Regions from separate parts of the Homo sapiens genome. Here regions 1, 2 and 3 are each linked to region 4. Evidence: promoter capture Hi-C in 16 types of primary human blood cells and fetal thymus (Javierre and others, 2016). All regions are on one chromosome and are shown on one strand. The core of a region is centred on a gene start or on the middle of the fragment in contact, and the rest is flanking DNA. Distances in the headings are between cores, read along the strand shown. Region 1 holds the start of INPP4A (inositol polyphosphate-4-phosphatase type I A). Region 2 overlaps INPP4A (inositol polyphosphate-4-phosphatase type I A). Region 3 overlaps CNGA3 (cyclic nucleotide gated channel subunit alpha 3). Region 4 holds the start of COX5B (cytochrome c oxidase subunit 5B).

Region 1 (4,750 bases), core at 819-3,318, 800 kb after region 4:
CATAACACACTACAGCCTCAAACTCCTGGGCTCGAGTGATCCTTCCACCTCAGCCTCCTGAGTAGCTGGGACCATAGGCATGTGCCACCAGGCAGCTTATGTTAAATCTTTTTAATGCCCCCTCCCCATGGACATCTCATTCTTCATTTTTCTTTTTCAAGTTTTTCAGTCAGCCTATTGTTAGCTGTAACTGGTGTCACTACCTGAGGCTGCTGTAATATTAAACAATTGTTACTGATTGTTTTCAACAATGCCCTGTGGAGAGGACCATTTGCACAGGGCAAGCTCTGAGTTATGCCAATTAAAGACAAACCCTGGGAATGTAGCTTTTCCAGGAAGCTGCCAGACAAGTAAATAGTGCCAAGACTCTGGGGATGGGGCTCTTTCAGGTGCTCCACATCCTTTTTGTCCCTCCAGTGGCTGCTAGACTGCTCTTATGGTTGCAGGGCTGTTGGTTTTCAAGGTTACACATACTCTTTCTTCTTCTTCTTCTTTTTTTTTTTTTTTGAGACAGGGTCTCACTTTGTTGCCCAGGCTCACTGCAACCCCTGCCTCCTGGGTTCAAGTGATTCTTGTGCCTTAACCTCCTGAGTAGCTGGGATTACAAGCATGCACCACTATGCCAGGCTAATTTTTATATTTCAAGTAGAGACAGGGTTTCATCATGTTGGCCAGGCTGGTCTCAAACTCCTGACCTCAAGTGATCCTCCCGCCTCAGCCTCCCCAAATGCTGAGATTACAGGTGGAGCCACCGTGCTCAGCCTCAAGGTTACACATATTCTATGTAGTCGTCCCTCAGTATCCATGGGAGATTGGTTCCAGGACCTCTGGTGGATATGAAAATCCATGGATGCTCATGTCCCTTATATAAAATGGGGTAGTTTTTTTCATATAACCTATGCACATCCTCCTGTATACTTTCAATCATCTCTAGATTACTTATAATACTTAATACAATGTAAATGTTATGTAAATCATTGTTATACTCTATTGTTTAAGGAATAATGACAAGAAAAAAAAGTCCATACAAGTTCAGTACAGATGCGATTTTTTTTTCCAGACATTTTTGATCTGTGATTTGGTTGAATCCATGGATGTGGAAACCATAGATTTGGATAGCTGACTGTATCCCTACAAAAATATCCTGTTAAATGGCCTGAAGATAAATTCTCATGTAGGATGGTTCTAGTCCTAAAGATAACACTGTTCACCTCTTAATTATTGTATGTAGATAATCTGAATCAGCTTGCAGCAGGTCGAGCCACAGACAAAACTCCTTGACACTGAGTTAAAGAAGGAAGGGGTTTATTCAGTCGGCAGCACCGGCAAGACTCCTGTCTCAAGAGCCAAGCTCCCTGAGTGAGCAATTCCTGTCCCTTTTAAGGGCTCACAACTCTAAGGGGGTCCGTGTGAGAGGGTCATGATCAATCGAGCAAGTAGGGGTACATGACTGGGGGCTGCATGCACGGGTAATCAGAATGGAACAGGACAGGACAGGGATTTTTACAATGCTTTTCCATACAATATCTGGAATCTATAGATAACATAACTGGTTAGGTCAGGGGTCAATCTTTAACTAGCAGGCCTAGGGCGCGGCGCTGGGCTGTCTGCCTGTGGATTTCATTTCTGCCTTTCAGTTTTTACTTCTTCTTTCTTTGGAGGCAGAAATTGGGCATAAGACAATATGAGGGGTGGTCCCCTCCCTTAAGCTTACTTATTGTATATAGATCATTTAAGTCAGTATGTTCATCAGAATCCCTTGGAGGGCTTGTTAAAATACAGGTCACTTGGCCCCACTTCTAGAGTTTCTGATTCAGCAGATCTGGGATGGGGTCTGGGAATTTGCATTTCTAGCAAGTTCTGGGAGGATGTTGATGTGACTGGTTAGGGACCCCATGTTGAGAACTTCTGAAGGACTGAGATACTTTACCACCAGCATACTTAGCTATCACATCGTGATGCTTAGGGAAGATATAGCATGATATTGTAAACCAAAAGGTGTCTGAGACAGATCTGTCAATTTAGAGGTTTATTTTGCCAAGGTTGAGGATGCAACTGGGAAAATGAGGCACAAACTACAGTAGGATCAGTAGGATCTGTGGCCTATGCTTTTTCCCAAGAGGGTTTTGGGGACTTCAATACTTAAAGAGGAAAAAGTGGGCAGGAGGGGAAAGAAGAACAGTGAATTATGCATTTTTACATAAGGTAAGTAAACAGAGAGTAGAGGAAGAGGTCAAATATGCATTTGTCTTGGGGTGGGTGGAAGGATGATTCCTCCGCTTGTCTTTGTCCCATTCCTGTGACGATAAGCTGTTAATTTACATTGTCAGGGTGAGGGAGGCCACCTGGGGAGATATGTGGCCTTCTATCTTGCAGCTATCTCTTTAGGAACAAAAGGAAGGCAGTTTTTTTTGCATGATTCAGTTCCCAAGCTTAGCTTTTCCCTTTGGAGTAGTGAGTTTGGGGGTCCCGAGATTTTATTTTCCTTTTACAGTATTAACTAACACATGGCTCCCTTTTCTCTTGATAATTTTCATTCTACGGTGGAATTAGGGCCTCATTCTTTGCCACACTGAAAATGTGATTGATCTTTGAAGATTATCCAGAATTACATAACAGTCAAGTGACAGATGTTATTGGAAGCTGATCCTCATTCAGTGTTACTGTACTAAATGAATGAATACTGAAATTAGACTGATATCTATTTTTAAATCTTTATAAATTTAATTTTTTTTTCTTTTTTAAAAGTTAGTGTTTAACAACTTTCTTAGCTTGATTATGACTGCCAGGCGTGGTGGCTCACGCCTGTAATTCCAGCACCTTGGGAGGCCGAGGCGGGTGGATCACCTGAGGTCAGGAGTTCAAGACCAGCCTGACCAACATGGAGAAACCCTGTCTCTACTAAAAATACAAATTTAGCCAGGGTGGTGGCACATGCCTGTAATCCCAGCTACTTGGGAGGCTGAGGCAGGAGAATTGCTTGAACCTGGGAGGCAGAGGTTGCGGTGAGCCGAGATCGCGCCATTGCATTCCAGCCTAGGCAAAAAGAGCGAAACTCCATCCCAAAAATAAATAAATAAACAGCATGGCCATAAAATTTATTGTTTGAACAGGAATACATTTGAGAGTGAAAGAGGGCCCTATTAATAATTTTGCTGCAAAAAGATGTAAACTGGGGCTGTTCCAAGCAAACTAATTGGTCACAGTAATTAAAAAAAATGCAAAAATATTTTTGCATTTCTACAAATTTGATTTTCTTGGCTTTAACTTTGTACTGTGGAGTCAAGGTTCTGTCAATATTTCTTTCCATTTAGCTGGAGAAATAATAAGAGGGAACTGTTTTATTACTAAGTTACTTTTCAGAAGAGAAATAAAATAAAAAGTAAAGAAATAAAAATTTAAAACTAGGACATTTTCTTTTTCTTTTTTCTTTTCTTTTCTTTTCTTTTTTTTTTTTTTTTTTTTAGAGATACAGGGTGTTGCTCTGTCTCCCAGGCTGACACTGCAGCCTCAAATTCCTCTGCTCAATCGATGCTCCTGCCTCAGGCTCCCCAAAAAACTCGTTTTATATTTGTTTATTTTTATTCCAGACTATTGTCTGTATTTTGGTGACATGAGGAGGATCAGACATAATTCTAAATGAGTTCAGAGAATTCTTAATTTCCATTCCTAACTGGTTAATCTCTTTTGTTTTTGAAGCAAATTATATGTTTAAATGCTCTGCCTGAGAAGTATTCTGGTTTATTGAATTAAAATCATTTTAAGAATTTTTTTTTCGGATAAAATGTGAAGACTCAAAGATAAGGATACATTCAGTCCAGTATTTGCCCTTGCTCAAGGAGAAATGCTGTTTTAAAGTCAAAGTGAAAATTTTCTTCCAAAACTTCTGATTATTGTTTTTGTCTATGGAAAAATAGAAACTTGGGGCAAAGTGTAAGGACTGATGCTGTTGCAAGTCTGTTAGTGCACACTTATGCACACAGGCCAGAACAGGTCCGGAAGGACATACACTTAGAGGTTAGCAATTTTCTTTTTTTTGCAAGTCTGTATTTTCAAAGAATTAAGATTTTAATTTTTTGCTTGTCTGGTTGGAATGTTCAGTTTCCTAAACATCTCCTGGGGAGTGAGTACGTCTGCACTTCAGGAAGTGCTCTTGTCCGGAGGGCAAAAGGTTGGGGGCGCATCCCCGGGTCGCGGCTCCTCCAGGAAACTTTCCCTTGGGGATCCGTCAGGGCCTCAGATGCCTCAGTGGATGACAGGGTGAAGATGCCATCGCTCAGTCAAGTCCAGAAGTTCAAGAACTCCTTGCAGGTGAAGCAGTCACAGGATAGGGTGGGATCTTGTGGGAACCTAGCAGTAGGAATTGGCGCGAGCAGCTCGGTCACCGGCCCTACTGTCTCAGAGGGCGGACCCAGCTCGGGCTGGTAGTGGGGCGGGGGTCGCAGGGCGCGGGCCGGGCCCTCAGCGCGCATGCGCGACAAGGGGGCGGGGCCAGGGCGGGGCTGCGCCCGGCGTCTAGAGCGGCGGCGGCTGGCTAGGGCTGCGGCGCGCGTGGAGGGTTCGCTGCTGGTTTGCCGCCGGGTCGGGCTCCGTGGGCCGGGGCAGGAGGACCAGCACCTGAGGCCGGGCCCGCAGCCCGCGACTTCACAGCCAGGCGGCGGCGCTGCTGCTGCTGCGGGGCTCTGGCGCGCAGCCCGGCGGGACAGCGGGGCGGCTGGCGCCGGGGGCCGGGGAGCGCCAGGTAGGTGGG
Region 2 (5,107 bases), core at 834-3,333, 820 kb after region 4:
AGAAACCCAGAAATGCTGGTTTCTAGAAATGGTATTAATTGTCTCAGGGGCTCTCCCTACAGTGTGAAATAGCTGGCTGGGCAGCTGCAGCCGGTTCCATCTTCTCCATAGCCACGCCCTTCCCGTGACCTCATGGGGTATCTGCACAGTGGGTGCAGTGCAAAAAGACACAGTCAAGCCTGTGAGCCAGTAGCTGGCGAGGGGGTGGTTTGGTAGTGAGAGATGATTACAGGGACGGGGGTTGGCTCATGGTTCTGCCACACCACCCTCCATCTCTAACTGGGACTCTGACTTGGAATATAGACTTCACTATGCCACATGATGTAGTGACATGGCAGAGGAGGCAAACAGAGTGGAAGGAGACAAGTCAGAGAAGAAGGAAGTGAAGGGCGGAGAGCAAGGGATGCTCATTGCCAAGGCCGTGGCAGTCACTGCCAGCAACAGGTGTGGGCCTAGCTTTGATTCTGTCACCTGCAGGGGTGCCTGCCCCAGAGCAGGGCTCCTTGAAATCTTCCATCCCCTTATTGGCTGTGCACTAATGTCTCTTGGAGAGACTTCTCAAAAACCTCCCTGTACTTAACTTGGTTTGACAAATTTGATAACATTTTATGTTTTAATAGGCAAACATTTTCATGGCTTAAAAATTGTAAAATATAGCAGGATATGTGGTAAAGCCTGTTTCCTACCCTATCCTCTAGCCATCCATGTCCCCTCCCTTAAGACACCAATGCCATGTGCTTGTTGGGTTTTTTTCTGAAGTTATGCTGTGTATATGCCAGCAGGCCTGCATGTGCAGACATGAGACAGTTTTCCACATCCCTGGTGCCATGCTGCGTGCTCGCTGTGTGCCTCTTCTGACGGTTTCACTGGCCCACAAGGAGTTTTGTGTTCCATTGTCCAGCTGCATGCTGGCCTGCTGCCAGGCTGTGCTGCAGATTCTTCAACCAGTGCTCTCTGGATGCCTGTTAGCTTCTTTCCAGCCTGTGCTTCACACTAATACGTTAGTTTTGTGAAGGAAGCTGCACCCCCCTTGCTCTGAGGTCTGGGCCTAGGCTCTGGCTGGATTGAGCATCATTCTAGCTGGAAAAAGAGGGTGGGGTTAGACGACGTGTTTAAGCTTCTGCCCGTTTATTTCAATTATGACCTGGCCTGTAGGGTTTTCTTTGGGAAATGGGCAGTTAATGGTTAGATACTATTTGTAAGGCACATGTCTCTAAAATATTACCTTCTAGTGGCCAGGCGTGGTGGCTCACGCCTATGATCCCAGCACTTTGGAAGGCCAAGGTGGGCGGATCATGAGGTCAGGACATCGAGACCATCCTGGCTAACACAGTGAAACCCCATCTCTACTAAAAATACAAAAAATTAGCTGGGCGTGGTGGCAGGCGCCTGTAGTCCTAGCTACTCAGGAGTCTGAGATAGGAGAATCGCTTGAACCCGGGAGGCAGAGGTTGCAGTGAGCCGAGATCGTGCCACTGCACTTTAGCCTGGGCAACAGATGGAGACTCTGTCTCAAAAATAAATAAATAAATAGATAAAAATAAAATAAAATATTACCTTCTAGTTACACACAGACCTTTTATTTTTTTAATTATTATTGTTTTTTTTTTGAGACAGGGTGTCACTCTGTCAACCAGACTGGAGTGTAGTGGCAGGATCATGGCTCACTGCAGCCTCTGCCTTCCAGGCTCAAGTGATCTTCCCACTTTAGCCTCCTGAGTAGCTGGGACTACAGGTGTATGCCACCATGCCTGGCTAATTTTTAATTTTTTTTTGTGGGTTTGGCTATGTTGCCTAGGCTGGTATTGAACTCCTGGGCTCAAGCAATCCACCTGCCTCAGCTTTTCAAAGTGCTGGGATTACTGGTGTGATCCACCATGTCCAGCCAACACACAGACATTTTATTTTTTATTTATTTTTAATTTTTAATTTTTTAAAATTTTTATTCAAGACAGAATCGTGCTCTGTTGCAATCTTGGCTCACTGCAACCTCCACCTCCCGGGTTCAAGCCATTCTCCTGCCTCAGCCTCCCAAGTGGCTGGGATTACAGGTGTGTGCCATCACATCCGGCTAATTTTTGTATTTTTAGTAGAAACGGGGTTTCACCATGTCGGCCAGGCTGGTCTTGAACTCCTGACCTCAGATGATCTGCCCGCCTCGGCCTCCGAAAGTGCTGGGATTACAGACGTGAGCCACCGCGCCCAGCCCACAGACATTTTAAACTAACCTGTAGCATCCTGAGTGAGGCTTGTCAAAGCTGCTTTTGACCCCAGTTTCAGGTACATTGGCTCTGTTGGGCTTTCCTCTGCCTGGCCTATCAAGCGGCCAACTCAAGCTGCAGGTGCAAGGGCAGATGGTTCTGCAGGGACCTTAATGACAGCCAGGCCCAGGAACACACAGTGCTTGTGTGGAAGTCTACATTTCAGCTGTGATGGTGTCTCGCTGAGGCTGGTTCTGGCCATGCCCTCCCAGCATTTCAGCTGTTCCAACCAAGGTGCTCTACATCTCAGAGGGAAGGCAACGGCCTGGGCAGCACGTTGCACGTACATTTTGGAGTCATGTTGGTTGGTGGTCTTCAGTTTCTGAATCTGTGATATGGCATGGTCATTCATCACAGGCGAGGTGATGCAAAGTTACCAACTGGGAGCACACCTGCCCCTTCTCATTCACTCACGCAGCAGGTAGTTTTCAGGCACAAAGGAATTGACTTGTGGAGCTGGCCCTGGGGTCTGTCTGTAGGAGAGCAGGAAGTAGTAGCCACCTGCGGAGGGCTCACAGGCATGTGCCTGCGAGACTGCTTACAAGCCCCTGTGCGGGATTTAGGGCAGACCAGAGCCATGAGCGTCCATGGTCAAGTGAAGGTCTGGTAGGTGTGAGCTGTTAGCCCTAGGGTCTGCTGCATGCGGTGCCAGGGGCTGAGGAATGCTGAGGCAGCTTTTCCTCCAGTCTCTGCTCGCTCCGTGCACAGCCCTTGTCTCCTGCCTGATAGTGGTCAGTAGTCAGTTGGCTTAGGGTACACGGTCTCCACCCAGTGAACCTGGCGCTGGCAGAAGCTTGTAGAAGAATGGGTGCAAAAAAGATATCTCAGAGGGCCTGCAGATGGCTGTTTTTAGGAAGTGAATAGGCTTCTTCTTTTTCTTCATTTTTTCTTTAAGATACTCTTGAGGTTTTGAGGCTCCACCCTGAGCTCTTTGTGGCTGAGGGCTGCTGTGGCTTGATGAAGGGGACAGTCTTCAAATCTTGCACAGGCTGGGGAAGGTTGGGACAGCACAGCCCTGAGTCTCGAACAAAATGGGGCAGAGGGGAGGGCAGGAGAGCCGTCAGATTCATGGGGCCACATCCTCGCAGCAACCCAGGGGAAGCTGAGGCCCCAGGGTCTGCATGATGGAGGCCGAGCACGACGGAGGAAGTGGAATTATTGCACATGGTGGGTTTCGACACTTGGGACTCGCTCCTCAAAGAGGAAAATCGAGAGTGGGGGTGCACAGAGCAAGGGCTGAAGAAACAAAAAGCAGGGGGTTTAGGGGAGAGATAAACCTCTTTGCATGAGTCAAGCTGAAAAGCAGTTTGGAAGGTCAAGTGCTAGCCAGTGTCTTTTTTTGCCTGCCCAGCCTCTTCTTCTGCCATGTCTGCCCTGACAGGGGCAGAGTTCTCAGTTCCCATGTCAGAACTCGGCACCAGCTTCTCTGTTGACAGTTGCAAGGCCTGTGGCTGAGAGAAGTACTTGTGCTGTGTTTCTGCAAGGTAAGATGGCCCTGATCACAGCTCATGATGCCTGAGATCAGGAGGGTCTGCTCCATGAGATATCAGCAGAGGCCATCCTGTGAAATATTTTAACTAATTGAACTGAATGTTGAAGACAAGGCCTGTGGCAGTGTTGTATTTATATGTGACAAGCCGAGAGTCCTTGGACAACCTTGGAAACTCCTTTTTAGGACAGAATCAACTGAGACGATACACACGAAGGAGCTTTTGTGAGCAGAGTACAGAGCTCGTTATTGCAGTACAAGGTTGTAGGTTTTCACACAGCTTTTGAGGATGGGTTGGTGGCCCAGGGAGGATGTCAGGAACTGTCCTTCACTAATGGGGATTCTCGAGTTCCTACCACGTGCCAGATAGCGTGCTGATTGCTTTGTATCCACTTCCCTTTTAATCCCTTGTATTAGCTTCCTGTGGTTGCTGTAACAAACTCGGTGGCTTAAAGCGAAAGGAACTTATTCTCTCACTGTTCTGGCCTCCAGAATCACTGGGCTGAATCAAGCTGTGGGCAAGGCCATGTTCCCTCCAGTAGCTTAGGGCGGAATCCATTCTGTGGCTGCTGGCTTGCCTCGGCTGCCGGCCCCTTCCTCATCTTCACACCAGCAGGGTAACATCTTCTCTCCGTGACTCCGCTTCTCTCTGCTTCTGTCACACGGCCCTCTCTTCTCTCCGAAATCTCCTGCCTTCATATAAGGACATTTGTGATGGCATTTGGGGCCTACCAGTGTAATCTAGGATAATCTCATCTCAAGATTCGAAACTTAATTGAGTCTGCAAATCCTTTGCTGTATAAGGTAACATTAATAGGTTCCAAGGATTTGAACGTGAACCTCTTTTGCAGGGGGCATTATTTGACCTGCCATACCTCACAGCAGCCTGATGAGGACCATACTGTCCCACATACAGTGGGCTTAATGAGGAAGCTGAGGCTTGGGGAGGCCTAGGGGTGGCCATGGTCCTTTCCTCTCCCAGACTCTGGGGTAGCTGACTCTGGGGTCATTTTGTCATGTTGCTGGGCACTCACTTGGTGAACAGATAATCCCCTGTCATTTTACTATGTTGTTACATGGGTTTGAAAAAAGAGTTTTTCAACTCTCTGGCTGAGCCCCTGTTCCTGTGAGGGCCTGTGGTTTTTCCTCCCGGCTCCACCCTGGTTTCGGCGCAGTACTTGAGCAGACGGTGGCTTGGGTCTCACTCTAGCGCCCTCCCCCTTCCTCTCTGGCTGTGTGCCCAGGCTGGCCCTGCCCACCTTGCTCAGTCTCTGCTCCATCTGCCACAAGTCTCACTCCAGCCCTCCCCCCAGTAGCTTAGGAAGGGACCTTCTTGTTACGTTTTTTGTTTTGTTTT
Region 3 (4,530 bases), core at 328-2,827, 740 kb after region 4:
CAGTGGCGCCATCTTGACTCGTTGCAAGCTCCGCCTCCCGGGTTCACGCCATTCTCCTGCTTCAGCTTCCCGAGTAGCTGGGACTACAGGCGCCCGCCACCACACCCGGCTAGTTTTTTTGTATTTTTAGTAGAGAGGGGGGGTTTCACCGTGTTAGCCAGGATGGTCTCGACCTCCTGACCTCGTGATCCACCCGCCTCGGCCTCCAAAGTGCTAGGATTACAGGCATGAGCCACTGCGCCTCGCCTGAAGTTCCCGTGTTTTAAGGCCAATTTGGGCCAATTTTGGGGGCGTAATCAGAGCAGTGGAAAAAGGCAATTTAAATATGTCCAGAGAATAGCCTCTTCAAAGGGTGACCTGCTATAATTCCTTTTTCCATCACCAGATACTAAGGTGGCAGATTAGGGACAGCGTGGCACTATTCAGGAGGGGAAGTCTTAGTTGGAGATTAGGGAAAAAATACCTATATCAGTGAGAAATGCCGATTTCTTGACTTCCAACAGACAGAGAAATGTGCCAAGGGTTTTTCTTGTTATTTCTCTCTTTGTTCCTCAGCTAGAACTTTTTTCTATTTTCTCCATGAAGGAAGCATGTCTTTTGTTTGCATAAATTTGGACATCAAATCCAGAGACCCAAATGCCAGCCATAACGAAAAATGAGATGATTTTATCTACAAAGCAATAGCTATAGTGATATGTGTTTGACTTAAAGCCAAACCTGACACTAAACACCCTTGCAGCTGCAGTATCAAGTCTTTCAGGCAGGGAACGGCTCCAGATACTGAAACCATGGACAGAGGTCCTGGGGGTTTCTAGGCATCTTTGTCCTGGGGCTGGGGTGTGGGCAAGGATGTGGGTGGATAGCGTGGGCTGCACCCGGCTCTTCAATCTTTCAATAAATGGGCTCACTTCACTGGTCCACTTTGAAGCCAAGGACCAAGGGACAAAACTGGGAACTATCCCAAAATGAGGACACACACAAAATAATTATTTATGAACACCTTCCCCGACTCTTCACTCCATTTCTGTCATTTTCATATGGTCTCATTTGTCCTGAATAATTTTTCCCTCCCCCATCAAACTGTTCCCAGCCAAAACCAGCAGCATTTTGCAGTTCTGTGTAGGGTTCTTTTGGGGCAGTGCTGGGTGGATTTGGGGATGCAGCCGATGGTGCTGGGTCTTTCCTAGGCTCTCAGCAGTTTGGTACCCAGACAGGCCAAGGCCCGTAATCCAGGGCCACAAATCTTGCACAAGGCAAGCTGAGTCCGGCGTAAACTGCAGGGCAAAGCTCACCCAAAAAGCTTGAGGGCAGCGCCGTCTGCTGGTGACTTGACGTTAAGACTCCAGTGCCTGAAAAGAGACCAGGGTTCACATCACCCTGGAGGACAGAGGAGGGGTAACTTTCCTTGCTCTTTTCATTTAATGATTTTAATAACCTTTTATTCTAATTCACTTTATTGAAATACTCTTGCTGAAAACTTGGAAAACAAGAAAAGCACACAGGGGCATACACACACAAAAACTGCACTTCATGCTAACCATGGAATTCCACTATCAGAGATAGCCCCACTTAACATGTTGACAAATATACTTCCAACTTCTTCCTAGGCATATATATTGAATACTTAGATTGATACAATATATTTTATATATACATATACTTGTTAAGAGCATCTGTTTCCCAACTCAGTTGCCTCAGAGCTTTGTGACCTTGGACAAGTGTATTAGTCCATTCTCACATTGCTAGAAAGAAATGCCTGAGACTCGGTAATTTATCAGAAAAGTGGTTTAATTGGCTTGAGGTACTGCAAGCTATACAGGAAGCATAGCAGCTTCTGCTTCTGGGGAGGCCTCAGGAAGCTTTCAATCATGGTGGAAGGCAAAGGGGGAGCAAGGAGTCTCAAACGGCAGGAGCAGGAGGAAGGTGGGGTAGGTGCCGTAAACAACCAGATCTCAAGAAAACTCACTCACTGTCTCAAGCAAAGCACCAAGGAATTGGTGCCAAACCATGAGAAATCCACCACCATGACAGGGACACAGATTCAAACCACATAAGCTGGTTACCTAACTTCTCTGTGTATCTGTTTCCTGGCTTATAAAATAAGGATTGTAATAGGGTCTTATTACATGGTGGGAGTGAAGACTGAATGTGTTACTCTGTGAAAAGTGCTCAGAACAGTGCCTGGTACATAGTAAGTGCTCAATAAATATTGACTTGTGTGGTAGGCAGAACAATCTCCCCCAAAAGATGTCTACCATCCTAATCCTTAGAACCTGTAAACAGGTTACCTCATATGGCAAAGGGAACTTCGTAAATGTGATTACATTCAAGGTCCTTGAGATAGGTAATGATTTGACTTGGCTGTGTCCCCACCCAAATCTCATCTTGAATTGTAGCTCCTCTAATTCCCATGTGTCGGGACAGATCTGGTGGGAGGTAATTGAATCATGGGGGTGGGTCTTTCCCATGCTGTGAATAAGTCTCACGAGATCTGATGGTTTTGTAAAGGGGAGTTCCCCTGCACAGACTCTTTGCGTGCCGCCACGTAAGATGTGACTTTGCTCCTCATCTGCCTTCCACCATGATTGCGAGGCCTCCCAAGCCATGTGGAACTGAGTCCATTAAACCTCTTTCCTTTATAAATTACCCACCCTCGGGTATGCCTTTATTAGCAGCATGAGAACAGACTAATACAGGTAGGTTATCCTGGATTATCAGGGTGGGCCCACTGTAATCACATGAGTCCTTAAAAGCAGAAGAGTGGGTCAGAGAAAGTAAATGGAAGAAGAAGAGAGTCACAGTGTGAGGGGGACTCGACCCATCACTGCTGGCTTTGAAGATGTAGGAAGGGGACCTGAGCTAAGGAAGCCACAGCCTCGAAAGGTGCAGCCAGCAGGGAAACAGGGATCTCAGCCCCACAATCGCAAGAAGCTGGATTCTGCGTAAGATCCAAACGAGCAGGAATCAGAGCCCCGCCTAGAGACTCTGGGGGATGGCAGCCCTGTCAACACCTTGATTTTAGTCTGGTGAGATCCACAGTAGACTTCTGACCTACAGATCTGCAAGATAATACATTTATGTTGTATAAGTTTGCAGTAATTTGTTCCGGCAGAAATAGAAAACTGATCCAGCTATTACGGTAAACTCTTTTGTAGTCTGCTTCTTAACTTAGCAAAATATTAGGAACCGTTTTCCCACGTCACTAGCTCTTCTGAAACAGCGTTTTAAGTGGCCATGTAGAATTCACCGTTGAGGATGAGCCTGCATGGTCGTGTGATTCGGTGGCTCTCCCTTTTTGATTGTCATGAATAATGGCAGTGATTATTTTTCCACACGTATCGCACACAGCCTTGATTATTTCCATAGGAAGTGTTAGGTAATTGTGAATGGATCTTTTTCAATGAGTGTTTAATTAGCAGAATTTATCTCTCAACCATGCCTTCCTTCAGCGTGTGGAAGAGAGAAATCAGAGGGGCCTGAAGGGGACTCGAGGGGTTGTCCCTTCCGCAACCTTTGTTTCTTCAACTATTCAATGGGGCATTACTGCCTGCCTTGAAGAAATTTACATGTATTCATTAGATAACTTTATAAGAGTTCCTAGCTCTTAAAAGACACCCAATAAAGAAGAGGCAGCAGTGTGAAGTCTTATGTTGAAGAAAAACCTGCAGTCACAGGACCATCCTGCGGACGCTGCCTGAACCGTCTCGCAGCCCAGCAAAGTCCGAAGGCGTGTCTGAACTCGGCCACATTTGCGAACCTGCGACCACACGTATTTGCCACTACATGCGTCACAGACCCGCCTCTTCGAATGTTGCTTCCCTTCTGCTCACTGGCTTTCTCATTAAGGCCCAGGTTTTCACTTGATCCAGAGAGAGGTTTCAAGAACAGCGGACAGGCCACACCCTTCCATTCAGAACGGAGAGCCTGGCGTGGGATTTCCAAAACTCCGAGTAACTTTCCCAACTTCAATGTGTGGATTTGGGTCTATGTCGTACTACCTCAAAACGTCTCCAGTCTCTGGCTGTTTGTGACTTCCCAGGAGCTCATGAAAATAGATCAGAAATTGTAGAACATTAGACTGAGCCACTAATTTCTCAATGTATACTCAATGGGGTGGTTTACCTCACGCTTCAGGAATAATAATAACAAATCAATAACCCCATTTCATCCCAATGCGCTGGAAGCACCCCTTGCCACGCCCTCTCTTCAGGACGTCTCCACGACGCCACACGCCACGCCCTCTCTCCGGGACGCAGCAGCCTGCCCCTTCCATTTGGTAATGTCCTTGATATATGAAGTCTGCTAAATGTGCCCCGGCATCATCCAGCAGCAAGGCAGAAAAGAACGAAGAGAAAAAAGAAGAGAGAAAAGCTACCTAAAACACGAGGAGGAAGTACTGAAGGAAGCTGCCTCTAAAGACGGGGTGCCATGGTCCCAGCAGGCCTGACCCCTCCCTGCAGGGCTCCAGGGCTGGGTATCTTGGAGCAACGCTATCAGGGGGCCTTAGCTTCGGCCCTGGAGGGGAGAGGG
Region 4 (5,163 bases), core at 1,968-4,467:
AAAAGAGCCTAAATTAATAAAATGTTTAAATACATTTTGAGCTTTAAAATACAATAAATAAATATGACTTATTTTAGAAAAATTTTTTTAAAAAATAGACAAAGGTGGATATAGACAAAAACATGTACAGAAAAATATCAAAAGGACTAAACCCCTTGGAGATTTTAATGGTAAAAGCTTGCTGATATTATTTTTAAAATTATCAACTTTTAAAAAAACATTTTATGGCCATTTGTTAATGAGCATAAGCTTCTACTGAAAATGAAATATTTGCTTCTATAAGAATATACTCTCAGATATTGTATGAGAATATACTGCAGCATTGTATGAGAGGCAAAAAACTAGAAGCCTTTGGAATATTCATCATGGGAGAATGGCTGGGCACATTAACGTACATTCACAGTAGGGAATATTCTGCAGCCATCACGTAAGTTAAGATCTAGATGTATTGATCTGAAGGGACATCTACAAAATATATATATTTTTTGAGCCGGAGTCTTGCTCTGTCGCCCAGGCTGGAGTGCAATGATGTGATCTTGGCTCACTGCAACCTCTGCCTCCCGGGTGCAAGTGATTCTCCTGCCTCGGTCTCCCACGTAGCTGGGATTACAGGCGCCCACCACCGCTCCCAGCTAATTTTTGTATTTTTAGTAGAGACAGGGTTTCGCCATGTCGGCCAAGCTGGTTTTGAACTCCTGACCTCAGGTGATCTGCCTGCCTCAGCCTCCCAAAGTGCTAGGATTACAGGTGTGAGCCACCGCACCCAGCCTACAAAATATTTTTTAATGAAAGAAGCAACTAACTAAAACTTTGTATAGTAGTTATGTTTTTATATTTTATATTCATATATGCAGTGATGCTCAATGGGAATTTTGCAAATCCAGGGGGCATGTGGCAATGGCTGAAGATATTTTTGGTTATCATGTCAGGGAGGTGCTAATGACATAGGGTTAAATCCTACAATGCACAACCTCCCTCAAAGAATTATCAACCCAAGATGTCAGTTGTGCTGAGCTTGAGAAACTCTGTCATAGGGAAAGGAAAAAAAGGATAAGCACCAAACTGCTAGCTTGTTCCTTATATATCTGTGCTGTTCAACTTATAATGTACATTTATTTTGACAACTGAAAATTATCCTATAAAAATAAGTTTATTGTGCTGGCAAAGACAATGATAGAGCAGAGGTGGCAGACTGTTCCCCAAGCCAACTGTTTCCAAAGGAGACCTGAGGGACTGGGTGTGAGTTGACAGTGGTGGGAGCTGGAAGCAGCAAGGGATGCGGGGACATCTGGGGAGCCTGGACCTGACCTTGGAGCTCACTCACACAATCTAAATAATCCCAGAGTGAGGCTGAGGTTTTCCTGAGTTGGATGAGGGCCTGCGAAAATTTCCTATTATTAGGCAAGCCTACTATGAGAGTGAGAAGCCTAAACTCAATTTCCATTTTATAGCCTGGAGTAAACCACTTCTGGTCAGGCAGCAGGGAATCATAACATATCAGAGCTGAATACCTCACTGGTTTGCTGAGGGGCAAGTTAGTAGGTGTTCCTCAGAAAGGATTTTGTGGTCAATTAAGACAGGGAAACTCTGGCTTAAACTGCAGGTAAATTAAATAAGAGGTCTTTACTGCAAGCCTAATCAGAGCCTTTATTATGCTAGTGTCCATCTCCAAAAGGGTGGTCATCAAATGCAGGCCCTCCCTGTCTTGACCAAGTCCTTTTTCTTGAGATCATGTCTTGAGACTTGGATGCCATGCAATACACTTTGGGAAATACTAACCTAGTTGAACGACAGTTTTACTGATGTAGAAATGGCGGCCCAAAGGATAAAAAGTAGCTGAACTAGCTGGTGGGGCTACTTTCCAGACCAATGCTTTTTTCTCCTGCCTAAGACCTTAACCACAGTTGCAAATTAACTACAGATCCTCAGAATTTTCGCCCAATTCAACTTGGAGGGGTTGCAGTGGAGGTGAGGGAGAAGGGAGTAACAGTGAAGCCATTCAAAGCAAAAACCACCTTTAAAGAAATTTTGGCCTTAGAATACAGGGTTTTTTTTTTTTTTTTTTTAATTGGTGGAGGGGGCACCCAGGAAGACCAGACGTGCTCCTGTGAAGCAACGCTCCACCACGTCCTTTTGAAAATACCGTAGCCTGCATGAGACAGGCGGGAGCACCTAAGCCTTCAACTCTCCCCATGTTGCCTCCAATTGACCTCACTGGGCCAGGAAAAGCCCTATAAACTGGTTTTGTATACTCTATCCAAGTAGTAAATTTACTAAAATTACTGGATCCTACTATATACCAGACCTCTGCAAGGCATTGAAGATTCAATGATGAGCATTAATTCCCACTCTAAGGGGATTTTTCTATCTGGTAGGGAAACTCAGATACCGCATGCAGCTAGCCTGTCACAGGGCTATACTGACTAAAGCTCACCCTAAGAAATTTGCACATCTTAGCCTATGGGCAACGGGAAGCCATGGACGGAATATGTTTTCCGTTTCAAACAAGGAACTCCAGTCACAGCAGGCTCTAACTCCATTTCCTATTATCAACTCCCCTTCCTGCTCCTCCTCCCTTAGTAGCCTCGAAAAAGAGTGGCCACTTCCTTCACATCACCAGGGCCTTGGTCCTGGTAGGGGGTCCCGCCCCCGGCCCTGTCCTCCTCCCCAGGCCGGGACCTCCGCGCCTCCCACACACAGTACAACTCTAACACGAAACTGGGCCAGGACTGCAGGTAGGTCCCGTCCAATGCGACACGCTCGCGACGGCCCACGCACTGCCAGAACCAGCCCTGCCACTAACCAGCCTAGTAAGGAACGCAGTGATCTTTAGGAGCCCACTTCTAAATTCAAATCATTTGGGGTTCAGTAAGTCTCTTCACAGACGGGGACCTAATAGCTTCCATTAGCAGCCTCCACGTTTGCTGAACACGACTACGGGGCCAGACCCACAGGAACTCCAATGTGGTTCAGCCGCTCAACTCCAGGGACCAAAAAGACTTTCCCACCTCCCAGCGTTATTAAAGGCAACCCCGCCCCCAAGCCTCAGCCACTACGCGGTGCAGAAAGAGGCAGAGCTGGGCATGCGCAATTTCCGCCCCCGCCACAGTCTTGGGAGTGGGCGGGCTCGAGGGCTGGGAGGAAGCCGAAAGCTGACCGAGAGGAGAAAGAAGCCCGCCCCCGGAAGTCCCTCCTGTCTCTGCAGCTTGTTCCCGGAAGTTTTGCTGCTAGTCGCGGACGCAATGGCTTCAAGGTTACTTCGCGGAGCTGGAACGCTGGCCGCGCAGGCCCTGAGGGCTCGCGGCCCCAGTGGCGCGGCCGCGATGCGCTCCATGGCATCTGGAGGTACTCGGGTCTCCGGGCGTGCCAGGGACCAGAGTGTTGCCCTCCCAGGGTGGTCCCAGGGCGGCAAAGCGGCGCGGCTCGTGCAGCTTCTCGAGGTCCCAGTGGCCGCTTTACGGTCCCCAGTGCCTCAGGCTCTGCAGGCATCTCCCTGTAATTCTGGACCGCTGCTCCTGCCGCTCCCCGAACTCACTCCGCTGCGAAAGTATCCTAAACGGAGGTGCCGGGTGACCTTGGGAGGGACCGGGGCTGCCACCGGGATGGGGAGGGGTCCGGCCTCCCTTCAAACCTGCGCCCACCTCAAGCAGAGTGGGTTCTACATGCTTTTAGACAAATGTCGACAAATTTGCCTCGGTGGTTGGAGAAAGAAAAGCTCATAGGCCGGGCGCGGTGGCTCACAACTGTAATCCCAGCACTTTGGGAGGCCGAGGCGGACAGATCCCCTGAGGTCAGGAGCTCAAGACCAGCCTGGCCAACATGGTAAAACCCCGTTTCTACTAAAAATACAAAAATTAGCCGGGCGTGGTGGCGCGCGCCTGTAGTCCCAGCTACTCGGGAGGCTGAGGCAGGAGAATCGCTTAAACCCGGGAGGCGGAGGTTCCCGTGAGCCAACATCGCGCCATTGCACTCCAGCCTGGGCAACAAGAGCAAAACTCCGTCTCAAAAAAGAAAAAAAAAGCTCCCCCGAGTGCTGCCGCTTGTGTGGATGGGTACTTGGTGGTTCTTAGGGGACCATGGATATGAGTAGCCTTTAGGAGCTTGTGAGCCCGCTAAAACTTATACAGAAGTTTCGGGGCACCATTTTCCTTGATCATTTCTGTTTGTAGTTTTTCTATCAGTCATTTCAGTCAGCGTCATAATTCACGTTATCTTCCTTTAGGTGGTGTTCCCACTGATGAAGAGCAGGCGACTGGGTTGGAGAGGGAGATCATGCTGGCTGCAAAGAAGGGACTGGTAAGGAGAAACTCCCTTCTGTGTCTTCTGTGTAACTTATGGCCTTGGATGTGTTCATAGTGGTCTCCTCTCTGGGAGTATTTGATACAGGAAACTTGGCTTGTAGGAACAGTCCCCTGAGCTTCTGGAAGGTAGGGCTTATTTGGCCTAATGGTTCAATTCTTGTTTTTTTTGTTTTGTTTTGTTTTTTGTTTTTTCTTCAGGACCCATACAATGTACTGGCCCCAAAGGGAGCTTCAGGCACCAGGGAAGACCCTAATTTAGTCCCCTCCATCTCCAACAAGAGAATAGTAGGCTGCATCTGTAAGTACCTCACCTCTATTTTTTATCCACTTGCTTAATATATCCTACAATAGTGTGTAAGCTGCCTCAAATCTTCAGTGTGTGAGTGCATGTTGGTAAGTTTGTCTAAGGGTCTTGACACTCTCAAGCCTCATTATGCCTGATAGTTCATCCTTACTGGAAAGAAGCGCAGCACAGCGGTAAGACTGGCTCACTGGGAGTGCGGCATGAAGGAGTACCCACCCAGCAAATATTTATTGTTATACTGCTTCTATGCCAGGCATCATTTTAGACACTAGGGATACATACCAGAACGGACCCTGCTTTGCGTTCTACATAGGCAAGGGAATTGTTAGAATTTACAGTGACCTTGATACAAGGTCAGTTTACTCATAGGTGAACTCAGAGCCTCAATTTCTTCATCTGAAGAATGGGAGGAGGGCTTGAACTGATCTCTTAAGATATCAACCATAGTCTTACTTGTGTATCAGAGATGTCTGAGGAAAAGAAATTCATGTTGAAAGTCTCCCTTTCTAGGTTGGATGACCATAAACCACCTTTTTTCCCTTTTAGGTGAAGAGGACA

What was found. The method cuts DNA at HindIII sites, captures the fragments that hold promoters and counts their contacts. A CHiCAGO score of 5 or more calls a contact.
Region 1: a contact is called between a fragment that was not itself captured here and the fragment with the promoter of COX5B in region 4, in 2 of 17 cell types (neutrophils and fetal thymus). The highest score is 6.1, in neutrophils.
Region 2: a fragment that was not itself captured here is called in contact with the fragment with the promoter of COX5B in region 4 in 1 of 17 cell types (neutrophils); the score reaches 5.1 in neutrophils.
Region 3: a contact is called between a fragment that was not itself captured here and the fragment with the promoter of COX5B in region 4, in 2 of 17 cell types (total B cells and fetal thymus). The highest score is 6.6, in total B cells.

Annotation. Positions count from the first base shown.
Region 1 is chr2:98,440,345-98,445,094 of GRCh38, forward strand. It overlaps INPP4A (inositol polyphosphate-4-phosphatase type I A), which reads left to right and starts at 4,514. Exons shown (of 25, transcript NM_001134225.2): 1 at 4,514-4,741. RefSeq lists a silencer at 4,344-4,750. The HindIII fragment of the contact is 723 bases long and covers 1,708-2,430 here.
Region 2 is chr2:98,460,934-98,466,040 of GRCh38, forward strand. All of the region lies in intron 1 of INPP4A (inositol polyphosphate-4-phosphatase type I A), which reads left to right. Among named protein-coding and RNA genes, the nearest start is that of INPP4A, 19 kb to the left of the region's middle. RefSeq lists enhancers at 2,361-2,876, 3,063-3,112, 4,363-4,502, 4,513-4,822, 4,921-5,107. The HindIII fragment of the contact is 1,937 bases long and covers 1,116-3,052 here.
Region 3 is chr2:98,383,941-98,388,470 of GRCh38, forward strand. The region is part of intron 5 of CNGA3 (cyclic nucleotide gated channel subunit alpha 3); the gene reads left to right. Among named protein-coding and RNA genes, the nearest start is that of CNGA3, 40 kb to the left of the region's middle. RefSeq lists enhancers at 1-21, 22-597 and a silencer at 4,158-4,345. The HindIII fragment of the contact is 559 bases long and covers 1,299-1,857 here.
Region 4 is chr2:97,642,845-97,648,007 of GRCh38, forward strand. COX5B (cytochrome c oxidase subunit 5B) reads left to right here and starts at 3,218. Exons shown (of 4, transcript NM_001862.3): 1 at 3,218-3,345; 2 at 4,223-4,296; 3 at 4,500-4,599; 4 at 5,152-5,163. The coding sequence starts at 3,243. RefSeq lists enhancers at 2,176-3,110, 2,913-2,962, 3,143-3,322. The HindIII fragment of the contact is 14,381 bases long and covers 248-5,163 here.